Regions from separate parts of the Homo sapiens genome. Here regions 1, 2, 3, 4, 5 and 7 are each linked to region 6. Evidence: promoter capture Hi-C in 16 types of primary human blood cells and fetal thymus (Javierre and others, 2016). All regions are on one chromosome and are shown on one strand. Each heading gives the region's core, a stretch centred on a gene start or on the middle of the fragment in contact. The rest is flanking DNA. Distances are from core to core; before and after follow the strand shown.

What was found. The method cuts DNA at HindIII sites, captures the fragments that hold promoters and counts their contacts. A CHiCAGO score of 5 or more calls a contact.
Region 1: a fragment that was not itself captured here is called in contact with the fragment with the promoter of LINC02909 in region 6 in 1 of 17 cell types (neutrophils); the score reaches 5.3 in neutrophils.
Region 2: a fragment that was not itself captured here is called in contact with the fragment with the promoter of LINC02909 in region 6 in 1 of 17 cell types (neutrophils); the score reaches 7.5 in neutrophils.
Region 3: a contact is called between a fragment that was not itself captured here and the fragment with the promoter of LINC02909 in region 6, in 1 of 17 cell types (neutrophils). The highest score is 9.2, in neutrophils.
Region 4: a fragment that was not itself captured here is called in contact with the fragment with the promoter of LINC02909 in region 6 in 1 of 17 cell types (neutrophils); the score reaches 8.1 in neutrophils.
Region 5: a contact is called between a fragment that was not itself captured here and the fragment with the promoter of LINC02909 in region 6, in 1 of 17 cell types (neutrophils). The highest score is 6.0, in neutrophils.
Region 7: a contact is called between a fragment that was not itself captured here and the fragment with the promoter of LINC02909 in region 6, in 1 of 17 cell types (neutrophils). The highest score is 6.4, in neutrophils.

The regions. Positions count from the first base shown.
Region 1 is chr12:25,288,857-25,291,824 of GRCh38, reverse strand. No RefSeq gene overlaps it. Among named protein-coding and RNA genes, the nearest start is that of KRAS, 39 kb to the right of the region's middle. The HindIII fragment of the contact is 2,217 bases long and covers 534-2,750 here.
Region 2 is chr12:25,433,740-25,436,450 of GRCh38, reverse strand. It overlaps the pseudogene FAM133GP. Among named protein-coding and RNA genes, the nearest start is that of LMNTD1, 120 kb to the left of the region's middle. The HindIII fragment of the contact is 4,168 bases long and covers 1-2,711 here.
Region 3 is chr12:25,378,045-25,380,786 of GRCh38, reverse strand. No RefSeq gene overlaps it. Among named protein-coding and RNA genes, the nearest start is that of KRAS, 130 kb to the right of the region's middle. The HindIII fragment of the contact is 2,413 bases long and covers 223-2,635 here.
Region 4 is chr12:25,359,269-25,362,245 of GRCh38, reverse strand. No RefSeq gene overlaps it. Among named protein-coding and RNA genes, the nearest start is that of KRAS, 110 kb to the right of the region's middle. The HindIII fragment of the contact is 6,678 bases long and covers 1-2,977 here.
Region 5 is chr12:25,257,227-25,260,283 of GRCh38, reverse strand. No RefSeq gene overlaps it. Among named protein-coding and RNA genes, the nearest start is that of KRAS, 7.8 kb to the right of the region's middle. The HindIII fragment of the contact is 7,684 bases long and covers 1-3,057 here.
Region 6 is chr12:24,996,187-24,999,181 of GRCh38, reverse strand. It overlaps LINC02909 (long intergenic non-protein coding RNA 2909), which reads left to right and starts at 1,717. Exons shown (of 4, transcript NR_171024.1): 1 at 1,717-1,950; 2 at 2,843-2,985. It also overlaps a transcript of IRAG2 not described here. RefSeq lists enhancers at 669-778, 1,029-1,158. The HindIII fragment of the contact is 1,157 bases long and covers 963-2,119 here.
Region 7 is chr12:25,402,651-25,405,527 of GRCh38, reverse strand. It overlaps the pseudogene RNU4-67P. Among named protein-coding and RNA genes, the nearest start is that of LMNTD1, 150 kb to the left of the region's middle. The HindIII fragment of the contact is 1,025 bases long and covers 1,104-2,128 here.

The sequences.
Region 1 (2,968 bases), core at 393-2,892, 290 kb before region 6:
GGCTAAAACAACTAATTTTTGTGTTAATGATTTTGTAGACAAAATACAACGTGTATCCTGTAATTTACTGAAGGGTTATTTGATAACATGCATGGGTGTCTAATGCTTTGTGATTTAGTTCTAAGAGGGGAGTATATGTTAGCTTAATATTTAGATTTATAACCATTAGTTGTATCGTCTAGTACTTGGGTAGTCTGGCTGTTGTTTACTCATTAATTTATTTATTCAAATTATATTTGTTTTCTAGATATATTTCATGTCAGGCACTAGGCAAAACTCTGGGAATATAAAATTTAATAAAAATGGACTAGATTCTCTTGAACAGATAGATGTTTTACTCAGTAGATTTGGAAAAGTAAATCTCCTGAGGGATACCCATACTTTAAAAATCACCCAAATCAGAAAAGATGCTACAAGAAGAAAGAAAGAAAAATAAAAAAATAAAATAAATGGAAAGCCAAATTTTTTTTAAAGGGAGAAATGGTCTGGAACATAATTAATACTGTGTTTTAAGAATTATTTTCTTAAAAGCTTCTTGCGGAAGTCAGTTTGCAGTTTGGAGGGAACTGTTGGGAAATAGAAGGCTTGCTCAGTCCTTTTGCTTTATCTCCATAGATGGTAAACACTTAATGTGGCCAAACCTATGATATCATCTACCATTACACCTTTGCAAATAGTTATCTCATTATCAAATGGGAATAGAAAAATGAGAGGAGGGAAACCCACAGAATCTAGCAAATACATGTCTTTACAGCTAACAAAGCATAAATTTCAAAGAATTCTATTTGTGTTTCATAAAATGTAGGTATTTTGACTGTCAAAACCTTGGAGGCAAGGGTTATCATTTATAATTAGGTACTTTCTGCAACCCCCTAGTGTTTTTACAGTCTTTTGTATTCAACATTTGCTTAAATATTTTATACTGAGAAACATAAAGTGAATTCATTGCTCATTGCCTATTTGTAAAACTTACATGTGAAGTCTGCTCCTTGTTTATTTGGGGATACATTCAAAGTAAGGCCCTAAGGCCTAGAAACAAAGATGCAATTTGGAAGCTACCCTCCATTGGAAATGCATTCAAACAGTAATTTCTATTTACATGCAAAAAAATCTCAAAGTTGCCTGACATTAAAGCAGGAAAAATTATGTAAACTCACAGGAAATATAAGTGCATCCTTTGTATCTTATTCAGTTCAATCCAATTTGATAAAATAAATACATTGTAAAAGCCCAGATGAAGGTTAATGAGGGTATGACTGAAGATGGTAACAATGAGAGTAGAAAGAGTTGAGCAATATTGCTGCACAGGATAAAATATAAATTCCTAAGCATGACATGAAACGCCCTTCACAATCAGAGTTCTGATTGCCTTTCCCACTTCATCTTTTGCCAAACTACCTCATGTTCCAGCCACTGAACACCACCTGAGATTCCCCACATCCTTCACGTCTCCATGCTATTTTCCCCAACATTTTATTTTGAATATTTTCAAACAATGTTTTAAATAATGTTACAGTGAGCATCCAAGTGTCCACTACCTAGATTTTTTTATTTTACTGTATTTACTTTATCATATATCTACCCTTCTATCTATTCTTCTATCAAAGTAAATTGCAGTCACCAATGGTCTTTCCCCTAAACACTTCAGCATGCATATATTTAACTAGAGATCAATATCTATTTATGGCCTTTTATCTTCTTTTTTGTAGTAAAAATTTACATACAGTAAAATGCATAAATCCTAAGTGTACCATTCACTGAATTTTGACAAATATACACAGCTGTGTGATTAAAACTCGTGTTGAGATACAGAACTTTACCATACTTCCACGATTTTCTTCATAGCCTTTCCCAGTCAAACCCAGTCTGTCTTCCAGAGGTAACCACTGTTCAAATTTTTTTCCCAGAGATGAGATTAGTCTCACGTAAAAGGAATCACACAGCATGCACTCTTCTCTCACCTAGCATAGTGTTTTTGAGTACAGTTGAGTGTATCAGTTCATTCCTTTCTAATTGCTGAGTTGTATTCCTTTGTATGAATATATCACAGTTTGATTATCCATTCTCCTGTTGACGGATACTTAAGCTGTTCCCAGTGTTTGGCTATCACAAATAAAGCTATTGTGAACATTCTTGTACACATCTTTATTTGGACATATGTTTTCATTCTCTTGGGGTAAATACTAGTGAAATTGCTGGGTCATATGATAGGTTTATGTTTAACTTTCTAAGTAATAACCAAACCTCTTCTCAAAGTGGTTGTACTATTTTACACTTCTCTACCAATGTATGAGAGTTCCAGTTGCTCCACATACCCTTCAACATTCGATGTTGTTAGTCTTTTTAATTTTAGCCATTCTGATAGGTATGTGGGGGCCTCTCGTTTTTTAATTTGCATTTCCCTGGAAACTGACAATGTTGAGCTTTTTCTCATATACATTTATTATGTATTTGTATACTTCCTTTCATGATGTGTCTGTTCGAATATTTGCCTTTTTATTATTGAGTTGTAGGATTTCTTTATAATCCTGGTTACCAGTCCTTTGTCAAAGAATTTTAAAAACATTTTCCCCAGTCTGTGACTTGCCTACTTATTTTCCTAATGATGATTTTTTTTAATAATTGAAGGTTTTTAACTTCATAAAGTCTAGTTTATCCAATTTTTATTTTTGGGTTATTGCTTTCCATATCATGTCTAAGAAAGCTGTTTCTAAGGCACAAAGATATTCTCCTGTTTTCCTTTGAAAGCTTTATGGTTTTTGCTTTCATGTTTAGAACTATAACCCAACTTAATTTAGTTTTTGTGTACAGTGTGAGGTAGAGGTTGAGATTCATTTTTGCTATATTGATAGTTATTTCAAAAGTTGGTTGAGAAAAATGTATTCCCATAGTATTGCTTTGGTCATTTTTTAAAATGATTCTCTATACGTAGATCTATTTCTGGGCTTTCAATTTCATCCCATTGATC
Region 2 (2,711 bases), core at 128-2,627, 440 kb before region 6:
AAACACATTGGTAAGATTTTCATGAAAATACGAACTTTTAGTGCAGAAGGACCTGCGGCAGGCCTACTTCAGCTGCCTCCCGAGCCAGGTTTCCCTTGGTGGGTGACCGTGTCCCTTGATGAGTGACTGTGCGCTCACTCGGGCACCAAGGAGAAGCAGGACCATCGGGTAGCCTATGTGAATCCAACAGCAATGGCCAGATCAAGGGGTCCAATCCAGTCTTAAGGGCCAACAATCCAGGATTCTCTCCGTCAACCAAGGCCTATCTGGGAAGAAGTGCAAGAGCAACTAGAAAAGAAAAAGAAAAAGGCGCCAAGGCTTTGTATGAATTTGAAGAAAAAACTAGAAAAACACAGGAAGAAATTGTTAAGTGAAAGTAAGAGCTTATCCAAAAAAAGAGAAAAAAAAAGAAAAAGAATAAATCTGGTAGGTATTCATCGTCTTCATCATGCTCTGATTCTTCCAGCAGTTCTTCTGATTCTGAGGATGAGGATAAGAAACATGGAAAAGGGAGAAAGAAAAAGAACCATTCACATAAATCTTCTGAAAGCTCCATGTCAGAAACTGAATCAGACAGTAAGGATAGAAAGACAATAAGGAAGAAAGACTTCTTTTTAAAGAAAAAGAAGGACCCAACTGAGAAAGAAAAAGGCTATTAAACGACTCAGCAAAAAGAAACCCATATTCTGAAGATAAATCTTTATCACCTGAGTCCTTGTCAGAATCAGAGTATATTGAGGAGATAAGAGCAAAAAAGAAGAAAAGCAGTGAAGAATGAGAAAAAACAACACAAAAAAAGGAAAAAGGAGCATGAGAAAAACAGTAAGAAGAGAAAGAAGGCTGCTAGTTCAAGTCCTGACTCATCATAATATTAAGAAAAATCAGGATTCCCTTATAGAGAAAGTACAATGTCTAAGGAAATTTCAACTGTGAAAATTACAACATATTTACTATAATGCATGAATTTTCTTGTTTTTAGAATTATCCTTGGACTGGCCAGACGCAGTGGCTCACGCCTGTAATCCCAGCACTTTGGGAGGCCAAGGCGTGTGAATCACCTGAAGTCAAGAGTTTGAGACCAGCCTGACCAACAGGGTGAAACCCCGTCTCTACTAAAAATACAAAAATTAGCTGGGCCTGGTGGCTGGTGCCTGTAATCCCAGCTAGTTGGAAGGCTGAGGCAGGAGAATCACTTGAACCCGGGAGGCAGAGGTTGCAGTGAACTGAGATGGTGCCACTGCACTCCAGACTGGGCAAAAGAGCAAGACTCCATCTCAAAAAAAAAAAAAGAATTATCCCCAGACTACCCAGTAGCTATTCAAATGCCGCTGTGTGCAAGGGCCGTAAATGTTGCCTGCTGCTTATCTATTCTTTTCTCTTCCAGTGCTTGATAACTCTGGGAGATAATACATTGCAGTAGCACTAGTGGTTACAATATTTGGGAATAAAATTAATATTTTTGACTAGAAGTGTACAATGATAAATCAACAGAAATCCAACTTGAATACATCTTTAAGGTGGAATCAGAAACGGCCAGATGTTAAAAATTTTAAAGTAGTTAAAATTTTTGAAGTAAGGATTACATTGACATTTCAAAATCCGTACTCTGTAGATCAGTGTATTTTAATTTTTTCCCCGTGTAGACTTTTATTTACCTGGGAAAGGTGCTTTTTAGGATGCAGGGAGGAGGTGCTTTGCTGTCTCTTTAAGCTAGGAGAACAACATGCCTTTGATCCTCACACTTCCTGTATTTGAGGAAAGAGTAGCCAGGCTTTATGGAGAGGTCAGAGCTGGGTGCCAGGAGTCTTGCCTTTTACTGAGCTTAGGGACATCCTTGGATTTTGTCATACGCTTCTTTGAATGAACCAGAGAAACAGCCCTTTTGCAGCATGAGAAAGCCCCAAAACCCCTGGGATTTACCTCCACTTCAATAATACTGAATATTTTTTAGCATTAGAATATGCTGGGTCATTTGAATTAATTTTGATGACACTTTGGCTTTGGAGAGAAATGGTTTCAAATAGACACTGGTACACTGGTACTTTTTGAACTTGAAAACTAAATATTCTAAAGTGCATGTTTCATACCATAAAGTTTTAATTAGTCAGGAAAATTCCATGTAACCAGTGATAGTTCCTTTATTTTTTGTATGAAGTTTGTTTAGGCTGCAATGTTTAGCTTTTGTTAACTCCTTTCTCTTGCTGTCTTAAGTTCACTGCTGTGTTTAATGGCACACTTGCCAAGATATTGAGCATATAAAAAGCAGGGTTTTGATTTTTAAAAAAAATACAGCTTCATATTGAGGCTGAGACTTACCATAAACAAGTTGAGTAGCAAGCCTGGTATGCTGTGTCTTGTTACATAAAGCTATCGCCAGAATCTTAGTAAATATAATGTCTTAAAAGTTAAAAAAAAAAAAACAGAAAAAAGAAAATATGAACTTTTACACTTCCAGTTGGTAACTGAATGTTATATTTGGCAATAAAATGAACCTTTACAAGGTACTGCAGCATATACCTTAAAGCACAAGCATGTCAAAGCCAATTTTCCCCTGTGGTTTTCATGAACATATGCCAAACAGCACAGGAAAATAGCCATCTGTAAGGTCTCATTGGGGCATTTCTGGGTCACAACTTCCACTGGTATCTTAAAAGAAATTAAAATCTGCTTTTATGGAGGATGACATCATTCACCAAAAAAACTGCTTTTAA
Region 3 (2,742 bases), core at 180-2,679, 380 kb before region 6:
CTCTTTTAATGTTGCCCAGACTGCCTTCAAGAGGCTGATGCTCAGAAGGATGACACAGGTACCTATTAAAATTCATATAAAGCCAACTATGATAAATGCCAAAATTGTCAAGGCTTAACGAGTCCTTAATAAGTCCTGATTATTTTACCTCGGAAATTTCTCTGATTTGACCCTTCTCTCTTACCCTGTAGCCACTGCCCTAATCTTCTGTGTTTTTAAGCTTTCTTCGACCATGAGGCATGGTAAGAAATACATTTTACATTGTGACACAAGAAATGCATTTTGCAGTTCAAATTTTAATAAAGTCACTTTTATATGCGATGTGAACAATTCGCAAAATGCAACTAAGAGAGGGAATCTACTCAAGATTTAAATACAACAATTAACTCTCCATTTTTTTTTGTCATTTATTTTCCAGGTAATAAACCCTACATTGCACTTTATGGTTTCAACCCTGTCGTACTTTGTGTCCAACATGATGGTACCTATGTTGAATGAGGGAGCAATTAATCTGCGAGACTCTCAGAGGTGAGGGTGAAGGTGGAGAAGGTATAAAGAAATAATGCCATTGATACTTGGCTATGGAAGAATAAAGTAGGATTAACAGACCTATCCGGAGGGGAAGGGCATGTCAAGTGGAGGGAACAGCAGTGGTGAAAAGATGGAGATAGGAGAGTTAGCAAGTGGGGGGAAAGTTCATGGAAGTGAGGTGTAGTGGAGAGTGAGGGCACTGGGTAGAGATAAGGGTGAAATATTACAGTGGGGCTGGTTGTGGAGGACCCTAGATATCATGCTATGAAATATGGATTTTGGCCAGGCGTGATGGCTCACACATGTAATCCCAGCACTTTGGGAGGCCGAGGCGGGTGGATCACTTGAGGTCAAGAGTTGAAGACCAGCCTAGCCAACATGGCGAAACCCCATCTCTACTAAAAATACAAAAAATTAGTCGGGTATGGTGGCACATGCCTGTAGTCCCAGCTACTTAGGAGGCTGTGGCAGGAGAATCACTTGAACCTGGGACGTGGAGTTTGCAGTGAGCCGAGATTGCACTACTGAACTCCAGCCTGGGCAACAGAGTGAGACTCTGTCTCAAAAAAAAAAAAAAAAAAAAAGAAAAGAAAAGAAAAAAGAAAGAAAGAAAAGAAATATGGATTTTACTTTACAGGTAATAATGAGTCAGGCTCCAAGGACATTTTTTTTTTCTAAGAAAAAAGTGACAGGGTTAGAGCTGTCTTTTTTCAGAAAGGTAGCTGCACAGAAGCCAGACTGGAGACAAAGAGACAAGATGGGAAGTAACTGTAACTTAGACAAGTGATCACGAGAGCCTAGAACAGGGGTTTTTCAAACTGTGGTTCACAACCCGTTAGTGAATCCTGAAATGATTTTAGTGGGTCACAACCAAAAAATGTTGTTTCATCCATCTCCCATTTTATGTATTCATAATTACAGGTTATGCATAAACTTTCTGGGCAGTTTAAATTTTTAATAAACTCTCCTCTATGATAGATTTAACTATTTAAAATGAAGAAAGTGAGCTTACTTAAAATTTAGCATGTTTAACTACAGAAACGTTAACTTTCAACATAGACACTGTCATTTTGGATAAAAAGTATGACAAGATTGAAACCATGAAGTATAATGTTAAAATGAGGAAAACATGGATAGTTAATTGTTGGATTTAAATCTTGAGTAGATTCCCTCTTGGCTACATTTTACAAAATTGTGTTTTATATAAAAGTGACTTTATTAAAAATCTGAACTTCAGAATTATGAACCCCGAAAATTTGAGACAGGTCTCAAATAATTTAGAAAGTTTATTTTGGCAAGGTTGAAGACGCACCCATGACACAGCCTCAGGAGGTCCTGACAACATGTACCCAAGGTGGTCAGGGCACAGCTTGGTTTGATGCATTTTAGGAAGACATGAGACATCAATCAATGTATGTAAGAAGTACATTGGGTCAGTCTGGAAAGGCAGGACAACTTGAAGCAAAGGCAGGAGGACTGGAAGTGGGGAGAGAGCTTCCAGGTCACAGATAGGTGATACACAAACAGTTACATTCTTTTGAGGTTCTGATTAGCCTTCCCAAAGGAGGCAATTAGATATGCATCTATCTCAGTGAGCAAAGGGGTGACTTTGAATAGAATGAGAGGCAGGTTTGCCCTAAGTAGTTTCCAGCTTGAGTTCTCCATAGTGATTTTGGAGGCCTAAGATATTTTGCTTTCACAGAATCCTCCCCTCCCCTCCTACCCTACCCTACACTTCCCTTCCCTTCCCTTCTCTCTTTTTTGTCTCGCTCTGTTGCCCAGGCTGGGAGTGCAGTGGCGCCATCTCGGCTTACTACTACCTCTGCCTCCCGGGTTCAAGCAATTCTCGTGCCTCAGCCTCCCAAGTACCTGGGATTACAGGTGCCAGCCACCACGCCTGTCTAATTTTTGTATTTTTAGTAGAGACTGGGTTTTGCCATGTTGGCCAGGCTGGTCTTGGACTACTGACCTCAAGTGATCCGCCCGCCTCGCCTCCCAACGTGCTGGAATTAGAGGCGTGAGCCACCACATCCAGCCCAGAATGCATTTCTTGTGTCACAATGCAAAATGTATTTCTTACCGTGGGTCATGGTTGAAGAAAGCTTAAAAACACAGACTTAGAAGATTAGGGTAGTGGCTATGGAGTGAGAGAGAAAGGGTCAAGATATCAGAGAAATTTCTGAGGTAAAATAGTGAGGACTTATTGACAAT
Region 4 (2,977 bases), core at 460-2,959, 360 kb before region 6:
TTAGTAGAGACAGGGTTTCACCATGTTGGCCAGGCTGGTCTCAAACTCCTGACCTCAAGTGATCTGCCTGCCTCAGCCTCCCAAAGTGCTAGGATTACATGCATGAGCCACTACGCCCGGCCCCATGCTTTGTTTTGATTATTGGTATACATCCAGCATTCACTGGGATTTTCTTACATTTCTAAGTTTGCTCACAATTGAAAAAAAAAAAGTCTGGAAGGAAATGCACCAAACTATTAACAAAGGGAATTGTGAACATTTATTGGTATTTGTTTCACACCTTTCTCTCGGACAGCAGCCCTCTGTATCTGAAAAACTGTTCCTCTTTCTACTCTTGTCAATTGGTCCAAATGGGGATGGCCATCTTTCTTTCAATTCTATTCCTCTGGCTGCAGCAGTCAGCCAATTGTGCCACCCGAGAACTCCTGGTCATAGTGATTAGTCTAGAGATTAGCGTGTGACCCAAGCCAGACTAATCAGAGTGCTTTCTGAGGGTTCTGCCAATTTACTTCCTCTAAGGAGAGCAAGATTTCTTCCCTCTATAGTCACCAAGATGATTCTTGAGCTGCTGGTGGCCCTTCTCATTCCCAGTGGAAGAGAACCAGTCTGAGATAACAAAGCTAACATGCAGAGATAAGTGGAGATGAGACAGAGCCAGTCATGAGGCCCTGCTTCCCAGGGAACCAGGTCCCACTCTTACCTCTCTGAAGTCTTGGTTATGTAAGCAAATAATTTTCCCTATTTGTTCAAGATGGATCAGACTAGGCTCTTGTTACTAGTATCCTTAAACTCTGATTAGTACATTTTGAGAAGTGGTTGGGAAAATTTCACTTTCAACTTTAGACATTAATTGTACTAATCAGAAATTTTTGGCTACAAATGAAAGGAATGCTATTTGAGCTAGCAAAAGCAAGTGGGAATTTATTAGGTCATGTACCCAAATGTAGGAAGGGCATAGGTGAAGCTGTCCTGAGGCATCTCTAAAACCAAGGATCTAAATGCCATCAAGACTCACTGCTATTTTTCTTTCTAGCTTTCAGCTTTATTCCTCCTTAACTGTGGACTTGCTTTCTTCACCCAGTGGAGACATGGCCACTGCTGGCAGGTTCTAGGCTCACATCTTAACAGCATTTGAGAAGAAAATTCTTCCTCCCCATGTTGAGTCAGTAAAAATCTCAGGAAAGGATTGTGATTGACCTGGCTTGGGCCACAGGTCCATTTCTGCCCCCAATTACCGTGACCAAGAATGTAAGTACTCTCATTGCCCAGATTGATTCGCATGCCCTCTCCTTGATCTTTCCCTGTGGCTGGGGATGTGGGGTCATGTAAAAACAGGGCGGTTCCGACCTAGAAGCAAAATTGAAAGGGAAATAAATGGTTCTTCAGAAAAGGGAGCAAGAAACTGGCTCTGACATGGTCACCGAGAAAAATCTGTATGAAGTAGAGCATCTACCCTAATTTTTGTGTTCACCACATTTTATATTGTTCATATATTTTATAACAAATAGGTAGCATTTGATAAGATATTAAAACTGGGCCGGGCATAGTGGCTCACGCCTGTAATCCCAGCACTTTGGGAGGCCAAGGAGGGCAGATCACGAGGTCAGGAGATTGAGACCATCCTGGCTAACACGGTGAAAACCCCTCTCTACTAAACCCCTGGGCAAAAAGTTAGCTGGGCATGGTGGCGGGCACCTGTAGTCCCAGCTACTCGGGAGGCTGAGGCAGGAGAATGGTGTGAACATGGGAGGCGGAGCTTGCAGTGAGCCGAGATTGTGCCACTGCACTCCAGCCTGGCAACAGAGCGAGACTCTGTCTCAAAAAAAAAAAAAGATATTAAAACTGAGTAAATCTATATTATATATTACCAAATAAATCTTTGTTATATATTTAATATATGTTATATACTACATAATATAGATATAATTACATATATATCATGTATTGTATTATATAGTACTAAACGCTTTCCCCCTGAAGTTATGTCAAGTTTATAAGAAACCTCAGAAATCATGTGGTTTGCAGCCTGGCTAACATGGTGAAATCCTGTCTCTACTAAAAACACAAAAATAAGCTGGGCGTGGTGGTGGGCGCCTGTAATCCCAGCTACCCAGGAGGCTGAGACAGGAGAATTGCTTGAACTCAGGAGGCAAATGTTGCAGCGAGTGGAGATCACGCCACTGCACTTGGGCCTGGGCAACAGAGCGAGACTCCATCTCAAAAAGAAAAAAAGAGAAAGAAATCATGTGGTTTGGCAACTACTAATGCAAAATACCCTCTCATGTCCTGGATCAGGAACGTGAATACCTTCCTATCTTCAGTGATGATGTGAAGAATGATGAACATAGATTTCTCTGGGAAACAAAGAGTTGAGAAATAACAGCAGAGCTGACTAAACCAAGAGCTGTTAATTGATCTGTAATCTTCATATCACCTTGGAAAAATTGCTCTCTCTCTGATTTCCTTTTCTTATTAAAAAATTAGAGTAGGCCAGGTGCGATGGCTCACATCTATAATCCTAGCACTTTGGGAGGCTGAGGCAGGAGGATCTCTTAGTTCAGGAGTTCAAGACCAACCTGGGCAACATAGTAAGATCTCATCTCTACATTTTTTTTTTTTTAATTAGCCAAACATGGTGGCACACACATAGTTTCAGGTACTCGGGTGGCTGAACTGGGAGGATTGCTTGAGCCCAGCAGGTCGAGGCTACAGTGAGCAGTGATCACACTACTGCACTCTAACCTGGGTGACAGAGTAAGACCTGGTCTAAAAAATAAAAAGAGAGAATAATAATAGTAATACTACTGATATTTTAAATATACCACTGGAAGTGGGGTTGGTGGGGGAGTAAGGCTGCAATATCTTACAAACACAATCTATAAGTGGCAGCTTTAATCATTTTCTTTGTATTGTTATTGAGATGAAATCCGACTGGGCACAGTGGCTAACACCTGTGTTAGGTGGGCAGATCACTTGA
Region 5 (3,057 bases), core at 124-2,623, 260 kb before region 6:
GAAGAAGGGAGAGAACAAGACAGGAAAGAAAAAGGCGTAAAAAACAAAATGAAAGATAAAATATTGTCAAGACATTGAGAGCAGTAACTTTCATTATAACAACATAGTCCATTCTCCTGACAAACATGGTAAATTAAAACAGTCTAGGCCGGGTGCGGTGGCTCACGCCTGTAATCACAGCACTTTGGGAGGCTGAAGCGGGTGGATCACCTGAGGTCAGGAGTTCGAGACCAGCCTGGCCAACCTGGTGAAACCCCATCTCTACTACAAATGCAAAAATTAGCTGGGCGTGGTGGCGGGTGCCTGTAATCCTAGCTATGTGGGAGGCTGAGGGAGGAGAATCACTTGGACCTGGGAGGTGGAGGTTGCAGTAAGCTGACATTGCGCCATTTCACTCTAGCTTGGGCGACAAGAGGGAAACTCTGTCTCAAAAAAAAAAAAAAGTCTGGAGACAATATAGTGTGTTTATAGTCACAATAAATACACAATAATTCTTTGGTTTTGCTCACAGCTTTCCTTCAAGCTAGGACAAGCCCTGTTACCCTGTCAAACTGTTTACAAAGTGCACAAAATTTGTATTTGGAAACATTTTATTGGCATCTTGGGAAGTTCAATTAATTAAAATTTGTAAAGTACTTCAAGATGCTGAAGAACACAAGACTGACCTAAAAACAAGAAATTTCAGTTATTGCAAAAAAGTGCATCATTTCGGGCATCTGTTTTACTTTGTATATTATCTTAACAATAATTTATCCTGGTTACCATTATCAATAGATACTGTCTAAGAGGGAATCAGATAACCTGTTCTGAGGAGTAAAACAATAGTTTTGGAAAAGCTAATTATTGCATTGGTCTTTATTCAATTTGGCCCTGTTTCATTAGCAAAAAAAAAAAAAATTGATAAAAAATTCTTTAGAACAGCAGTTCTCAGTGTTCTACAGGCACCCTTGTTCAGAGGTGGGGGGTTCCAAGACCTTTTCAGGAGGTCTGGAAGGTCAAATCTCTAATCATAATAATACTGAGATGTGAGATGTTATTTTCCTTTTTCATTTTCATTTCTCTCATGAGTGTACAGTGGAGTTTTCCAGAGGTTATATGTGATATAACAGAGAGAATACAGGAGCAGATTTGAGAATCTAGCCTCTTCTATTAAACAAGGCATTAAGGATTTGCAAATATGTTAAAACGATGCCACTCTTCTCATTACATATTTTTAAAAATATAATTATTTTCATAATGTTATTTATGTTAATATGTGATGGGTTTATTATTATTTTAAACAAATAACTTCTAAATATGTGAAATGATCCTGACATCAAAAAGTCTGAGGAGCACTGCCTTAGAATGTGACTTCCAAGATAGCAGAGATATGTGTCTGTTTGGTATACCAATGCATCCCAAATATCAAAGATGATACCGGGCATATAGTAAGGGCTCAGTAAAGAAATACCTATTGACTGACTGAATGAATAAAATGTTATTAACATATTAGATTAGCTAATATTGAATATTGGCTTCTTTTTTTTTTTTTTAGAGTCTTGCCCTGTCGCCCAGGCTGGAGTGTAGTGGCACAATCTTGGCTCATAGCAACCTTCACCTCCTGGATTCAAGCAATTCTCCTGCCTCAGCCTCCCTAGTAGCTGGGATTACAAGCGTCCACCACCACGCCCAGCTAATTTTTGTATTTTTAGTAGAGACGGGGTTTCACCATGTAGCCAGGCTGGTCTTGAACTTCTTACCTCAAGGATCCGCCGGCCTCGGCCTTTCAAAGTGCTGGGATTACAGGTGTGAGCTACCGTGCCTAGCCTGCTAATATTGGCTTCTTAAGGGCCTGTAACAAATGGTAATGTTTGAGTTTGTTGAGGTTTTCATACATTAAGATAGAATTAATTTATGCAGGCATTACAACTATTTATGAAAATAATTCAGATTAAAGTGAAATAATCATTTATACTTCCATTTACCACCTCTCTACATTTATAGACTTCTAATATAAAAAATTATTGACAAGGCAGAACAATCTTCCAAAAAGAATTTACCTCAAAGGTGACTTGCCTTATTCAACTGAGGACATGTGGATCCTAAATGAGATGTCTGGGCCCAAAGGGTTAATGCCCCTAGACTCCATAATGTTAAACTGATGTGCACAAATAAAGCTCTATTTGAATACATATCACCATGAATGAACTAGAAGCACCTGACAACATATCCAACAACTGTGATTAGAGAGAAGAGACAGAAAGTAGGAAAATCAGGCTTGTAATCAGCAGGGAGTCCAATTAGCACATGCTTGGGGAATTAGAAGGAAATGATTTTTAAAAATACTTCTGATTTCTGATATCCTTAAAAACAAAACCAAGCACTAAAGCACTTTTTTTTTTTTTTCAAACTAGGTCTCATTCATCGCCCAGGCTGGAATGCAGTAGCGTGATCTCAGCTCACTTTAGCCTTGACCTCCTGGGCTCAAGCAATCCCCCCTCCCCCAAAGCTGGGACTACAGGCGCATGCTACCATGCCTGGTTAATTTTTGTATTTTTTGTAGAGATGGCGTTTTGCCATGTTACCACATTGCCAGGTTGGTCTCAAACTCCTGGACTCCAGCGATTCTCTTGCCTTGGCCTCCCAAAGTGCTGGGATTATAGGCATGAGCCACCATGCCTGGCCTAAATGAAGTACTATTGTATTATGTAGATAGAAGCAAAGCCAAGAGATCTAAATTGACTTGCAGAGACCTCACTTAGAGTGGATTATTCGTCCTATTATTTTCTTTATGGCAACTTATCAACAAATCTTTATTAAGTGACTACTATGTGCCAGGCTCTTTCTGGACGTTGAGGATTCAGTGGTCCCTGGCTCATGAAATTTATATTTCAGGGGAGGAAACAGGCAAGCAGTCAATAAATGATCAAGATAACTTCAGATATGATAAGCGCTAAATAAAAGAATAACACAGGCCACTATGTGAAAGAGAGATTCACTGAAGGATTGAAGTTAGGGAATAAGGTGAGGATTGCTGATTTAGACCTGGTGTTGGGGAGTCTCTCACTGAAGCAATGT
Region 6 (2,995 bases), core at 468-2,967:
GACTTCAATGAGTTAATCTACTACGTATGTACAATGTAGACAATATTTCTTATTCTTTAGGAATGTATATGTAAACAACATGACATAATTTGTGTTTATCAACATCTATATTATTCAATCACTAAGAAAGTTGCATTTTATTGCAAAGAATGGCATATGATGTATACAGAGGTACAAAAGCAGCATCCTGGAAAAAGCTGGCAGATTTCAGGGTGATTCAAAAGGCTCTGTAGAAATCTTTCTGAATCAAATTCTAACTCCAAACAGATTAACAATGTAATTATCTTTCCTGTTTTTTTCCTTTAAAATGTTTTCCTCCCTTTACTAAAGTTATTTATTGAGCATTGAACTTCCAAACCTTAGATCAGGCAGGCTGATTTTTAAAATCATTCAAAACTTGATTAGGAAAGCCAGTCAATCATTCATGATTCATCTATGTGAGATCCTATTGGTAATTAATGCAAAATCCTTAATATACGTAAAAAAAAAAATTTAAGTATGTGTGTAGATAGACAAGAGATTCCTTTTGCCAAAACAACCCTTCACTAATGATTAGATGCCACTAAACTCTTCATCAAAACCTAAGAAGAAACATCTGTTCACTGAGACATTCCCAGGAAACCCATCTTTAGTGAGCTCAGTGGGAGGGCAGAGCATGGTTTTCTGCTTAACCAGTGAATTTTATATCTGCCAAATTAAACTGTTTTCATTCTCTTTGTGACTACTATTTTATGTGATAAAATAATAACACTTCTTCCTGCCGTTTCTAGGATAGATGATAGCAGCTGTTAATCACATGATTTGCAAACCACAAGTACCAGATTTAGTAAATGCTCAGCAAGTCTGTCATCCGCAACCTTTCTGATTATTAATAAATGCAAGCTGGTATAGGCTAGAAACTTTCCTCCCACAATTCAGTTAACCTTGTTATATTAAGCTTCTTGGCTGGGTCACACCAAGCTTACTATAAACATCTCTTATTGGAACAATTCCTAAAATAGCAGAGTGACACATGCTTCTGAAAACTGTTCTTCTGTCTCACTTCTTGTTATATGAAGTCTGGTTTTCTTCTCAGAGAACAAGAGAAGACCTACAATAAATCTCTAGCTTCAAGAATTCAGGTGCCTCCAAGGTTCTTACAGTCTATAAAACTACATCACTGCGTTTCACTAACACACATTCCAAACGACCAAGCCTGAAAATGGCAGGATTAATTTAAATTTCCAAAAGCTCCATTGAAAACAATTTGAGATTTGCCTGTGGTGACAGCAACATATCTGGGGAATCTCACTTTATCACTCTCAGCTACCCATCTTTTTTCCCTATTTGTAGAGTGTTTTTCTTTTCAGATTTGTTTCAAGTTTTCAATGAACTCTGTTGAACCTCTAATATAGACTTATTGGAGGTTTGTCCCTTTTGCCACAAGCATTTTGAGGTTGAGACACAACAGAACAGCCTACATCTGATATTGCTTTTCCCTGGTTAGGGCGGTACTTTCTCGGCCTTCGATGACTAAAGGCCAGCATCAGCCAAAATTTAATTATTTCGTTGGGGAAAACTCACCACCTTATTTTCGCTTGACTTCGCCAGTGCTCCAAGAACCATCTGAGAACTGGGAAGAAAGAGTGGAGACCTACAGGTCAGATGACATGGGTGGAGCCCATTTCTACAGAGTGGCTTGGGCTGAGGTAAAAGAAGCTAGAGAAGAGAGCCGCTGATGCACTGCACCTGCCTAGGCTGGAGTTAAGGTACTAATCACAGCAGCAGTGCTGGGAAAGATGCCTAGGAAGGATGAGGATGACAGGCACTATTTTGGTGTGCTCCCCACCACAGCAATAACAGAAAGATAGTCCAGGTGCAGTGTCTTTCACCTGTAATCCCAGCACTTTGGGAGGCTGAGGTGGGAGGATCGCTTGAGCCCAGGAGTTCAAGACCAGCCTGGGCAACATGGTGAGACCCCCCCCCACCCCCGGTCCCCGCCCGGCTCTACAAAAAACAACACACTAAAGCTCATCCTGATTATACTTTCTAATCAGATGAAGGAAAATTATTTTTAAGTTAAATCTCATACTTTTTCTTTTGTTTTTTGGAAATGGAGTGTTGCTTTGTTGCCCAAGCTTGAGTGCAGTGGCACGATCTCAGCTCACTTCAATCTCTGCCTACTGGGCTCAAGCCACTCCCCCACCTCAGCCTGCCAAGTAACTGAAATGACAGGGGCATGCCACCACAGCCAGCTAATTTTTGTATCTTTTGTAGAGATGGGGTTTTGTTGTGTTGCCCAGGCTGGTCTCAAACTCCTGAGCTCAAGCGATCTACCTGCCTCAGTCTCCCAAGGTGCTGGGATTACAGGTGTGAGCCATTGCGCTCAGCCTGGTCATTATCATTTCTATCACCAGGTGAGAGCAAAGGGGAGTCAAATACTGGGGAATAAGAACTGGGGCTCTGAGTTTAAATAACCTGAGTTCAAACCCCAGTTCTGCTGCTTACTAGCTTTGTGATCTTGGACAAATTATTTAACCATATGTGCTTCAGTTTCTTCATCTGTAAAATTGCATCAATATCATGCAATGACCTCCGGGTGTGCTGCAGGGATTAAATGAGGTTAATACGCAGATGGCCCTCAGAACCATGTAGCACATTCTGAGCTCTCAGTAATGTTGTTATGATGCACTTTCTGAAACTCCTTTAACTTATCCAATACTAGAGGTCCTCTTAAAGCACCAAATAGCACCTAGAAAGAAATGACCAAGTAACCCGCTCCTCTCATTAGATTTGCTGTTTAATTTCCCATGAAATAACCTATTATAACATCCATGCTTGCGATCTGCTTATCAATCCACAGATACCGAAACTGGCAACACCCAGAGACATTTCCCTCCTAGTCATAAAGGAAGCCAGCAGCAGAGCCAGAAATAATATTCAAATTCTGGATCCACTAGACCATATTGCCCGTCTGACAAATTATACGCTTACATCCTGCTTCAGGTGAGTCTAG
Region 7 (2,877 bases), core at 367-2,866, 410 kb before region 6:
GAACATAGGTTACTAATTTGAAACTTTTTCTCTTTTCTAATGTAAGCATTTCATGCTAAAATTTCTCCCCCAGCACTTCTTTAGCCGTGTCCTACAAATTTTGATAAATTGTATTTTCAAGAGTGGGGCAGCAGTGGGAGTTCCAGCTCTCCATGGTGGGGTGGTCTCATTACTACTGGGTAATGGTGAAAATCCTGACTCCAATAGGCCTGCTTTGACACCAACCCAGTGGGAAGGGGTATGTAGCCCCTTTGCTGCCTGGTGGAGGTTGATGTCCAGACTCTCCATGTGGTCTTCAGCGACACAGCAGGGGGCGTGCCTTGTTACCTACCACAGGAATAAATGTGACAGCCTCTTGAGGCAGGAAGGCTAGGCTCTGTCACGTGGCCTCCGCTGGCACAAGTGAGGGTGGGGACACAGTTTTTTCTGTGGTGTTTGGCTATAGTAGGGTAAATATTGTCTTAAAGATTTCTGTTTTGGTAGGTTGCCTCTTTCCTACTTCTTTGGCTAGAGAGAGCAGGCTTTTATTGGGATTGTTTGTTTGTTTGTTTGCTTTGTCGATGCCAGTTAATGTTTCTGGGTAGCCAGGTTTTGAAGCTCCAGGGCTGGGATATATAAGCCAAAAACAAAACCCCGGGAAACTCACCAGTATGTTGATCCTCAGGTTCCTAGGTCCCTGGCCAGTCTGCTTTCCTCTCTCCCAGCGTCAGTCTTCTCTTATGTTTGTTTTGTATATAATATTCAGGGTTTTCAGTTGTTCTTAGTGAGAAGAACAGGGAAAAGAATATCTACTCCATCTTCCTGGAAGTGGGAATTGTACTTTTACTTTTTACTTTGTATAATAAATTATTCTTTTTAAACGGTGGGAGTATGAATGGTAACTTTTAACATTTTTCTTTTGTGTTTTTTACTGCCAAATATGCTAAACAATGAATCTAAGTGGTAAAGCTATGTGGTCTTCCAGCTATAAAATGCATATTTACATGAAAAATCTCAGATAACAGGAGGCAAAGATTCTTGTTCAGATTATTTATTTCATGCAACTGAAAATGTTTCTTCTTATAGTCTCTCATAATCCACATTTAAAGTATTACATATAAGCTTTGCACAGTGGCAGTATCATAGCCAATGAGGTTTATCCGAGGCACAATTATTGCTAATTGAAAACATTTCCCAATATCCTGCCATGAAGACTTGTAATATAGTTGGCATTAGCAATTTTTGACAGTCTCTACGGAGACTGAATATAATATTGTGTATATATATATTACATATAGCCTTGTAATAATTAAAGACATAGTAAATACAGCTTCTTTAAACTTCTATTCTCTCTTCTCTCTTAATCATACTCAAATAAGAGTAAAGAGTTCAAAAAGTAAAATATTACAAGGAAAAAATGGTAGTGGAGACAGATGCATAGAAATTTTTTAATGAAAGAAAGCAATTGCATATATGGTAACTGACTTAAGAAACCTGAGGAAGAGGAAATCTAAACCAGGCAGTGAGGGAATGCCAACAAAAAGCAAACCCTAGGACCCTGGAAAAGTTCAGAACTTGGAAGTACATGGTAACTTTCATGGAGGTGAGGGTGTGACCAAGAATAGTAGAATTGGTTGAAAGTCTATAGGAAGCCACGTGACCTCCATGTCTCCTCCTGTACCCTAGACAGCCAAATGATTTCTTTGCCCTCTAAGCTGTATGATGAGAAACTTATTCTCTGGTGAAGTTGAACCAGAGAGACAGTCTCTGAATTTGAGCCTTCCACTTTCAGTTGATGCATGGTTGAGTGTTCACATATTGAATGGTGAAATTTCACAGCCATTTTCTTTTATTGGGCCCTCAAAACACTAGCAGCCTGGCATTTCACTCCCAGAGAATTCCTATTTTGGGAAACTGATCACCCCAAGGAAAATGACCTACAAGTACTGACAGGCATATGACTAAGAGTAGTCCCAGAAAGAGAAAACTAAATTTAAAAGATTATTTTTCAGAAATTGAAGACAATTTCCTACATCTAAAGAATATCTTTCCACATTAAGAGGACCTGTCAAATACCCATTTAATAGATGGGAAAATGCATAATTTCTGAAATTTCATATCACTAGGACAAAGAGAATACCCTAAAGCTTTCAGTACAGAAAACAATACAAGTCAAATATACAGCATCAGAAATTAGAATGTCACTGGTCTCTCAACAGCAGCTTTAAGGCTCAAACATAGTAAGCAGCGGCCAGGTGTGGTGGCTCACGCCTGTAATCCCAGCACTTTGGGAGGCTGAGGCAGGCAGATCACAAGGTCAGGAGATCAAGACCATCCTGGCTAACATGGTGAAACCCGTCTCTACTAAAAAATATACAAAAAAAATTAGCCGAGCGTGGTGGCGGGCACCTGTAGTCACAGCTACTTGAGAGGCTGAGGCAGGAGAATGATGTGAACCCAGGAGGCAGAGCTTGCAGTGAGCCAAGATTGCGCCACTGCACTCCAGCCTAGGCAACAGAGCCATACTCCATCTCAAAAAAAAAAAAAAAAATTGTAAGCAGCTTTCACAGTACTGAGGAAAAATTATTTCAAACCCAGCATTCTATACCTCGCCAAATTATCAAGTAAATGCAATGATAGAATAAGAAATTCTCAAACTTGTGAGGTCTCAAAAGATTTAATTATCATTTACTTTTTCCAAGAAGATACTACAGGAAGTGGTCCCGCCAATACCAGCAAGCCAATAAACTGTAAGGAAAAGCAAACAGAATACTCAGTATGAAAGTGAAGGAAGATCCCAGGATAAGAACTGTACAACAGGAAGACTGGGCGCAGTGGCTCATGCCTGTAATATCAACACTTTGGGGGGCTGAGGAGAGCAGATCACAAGGTCAGGAG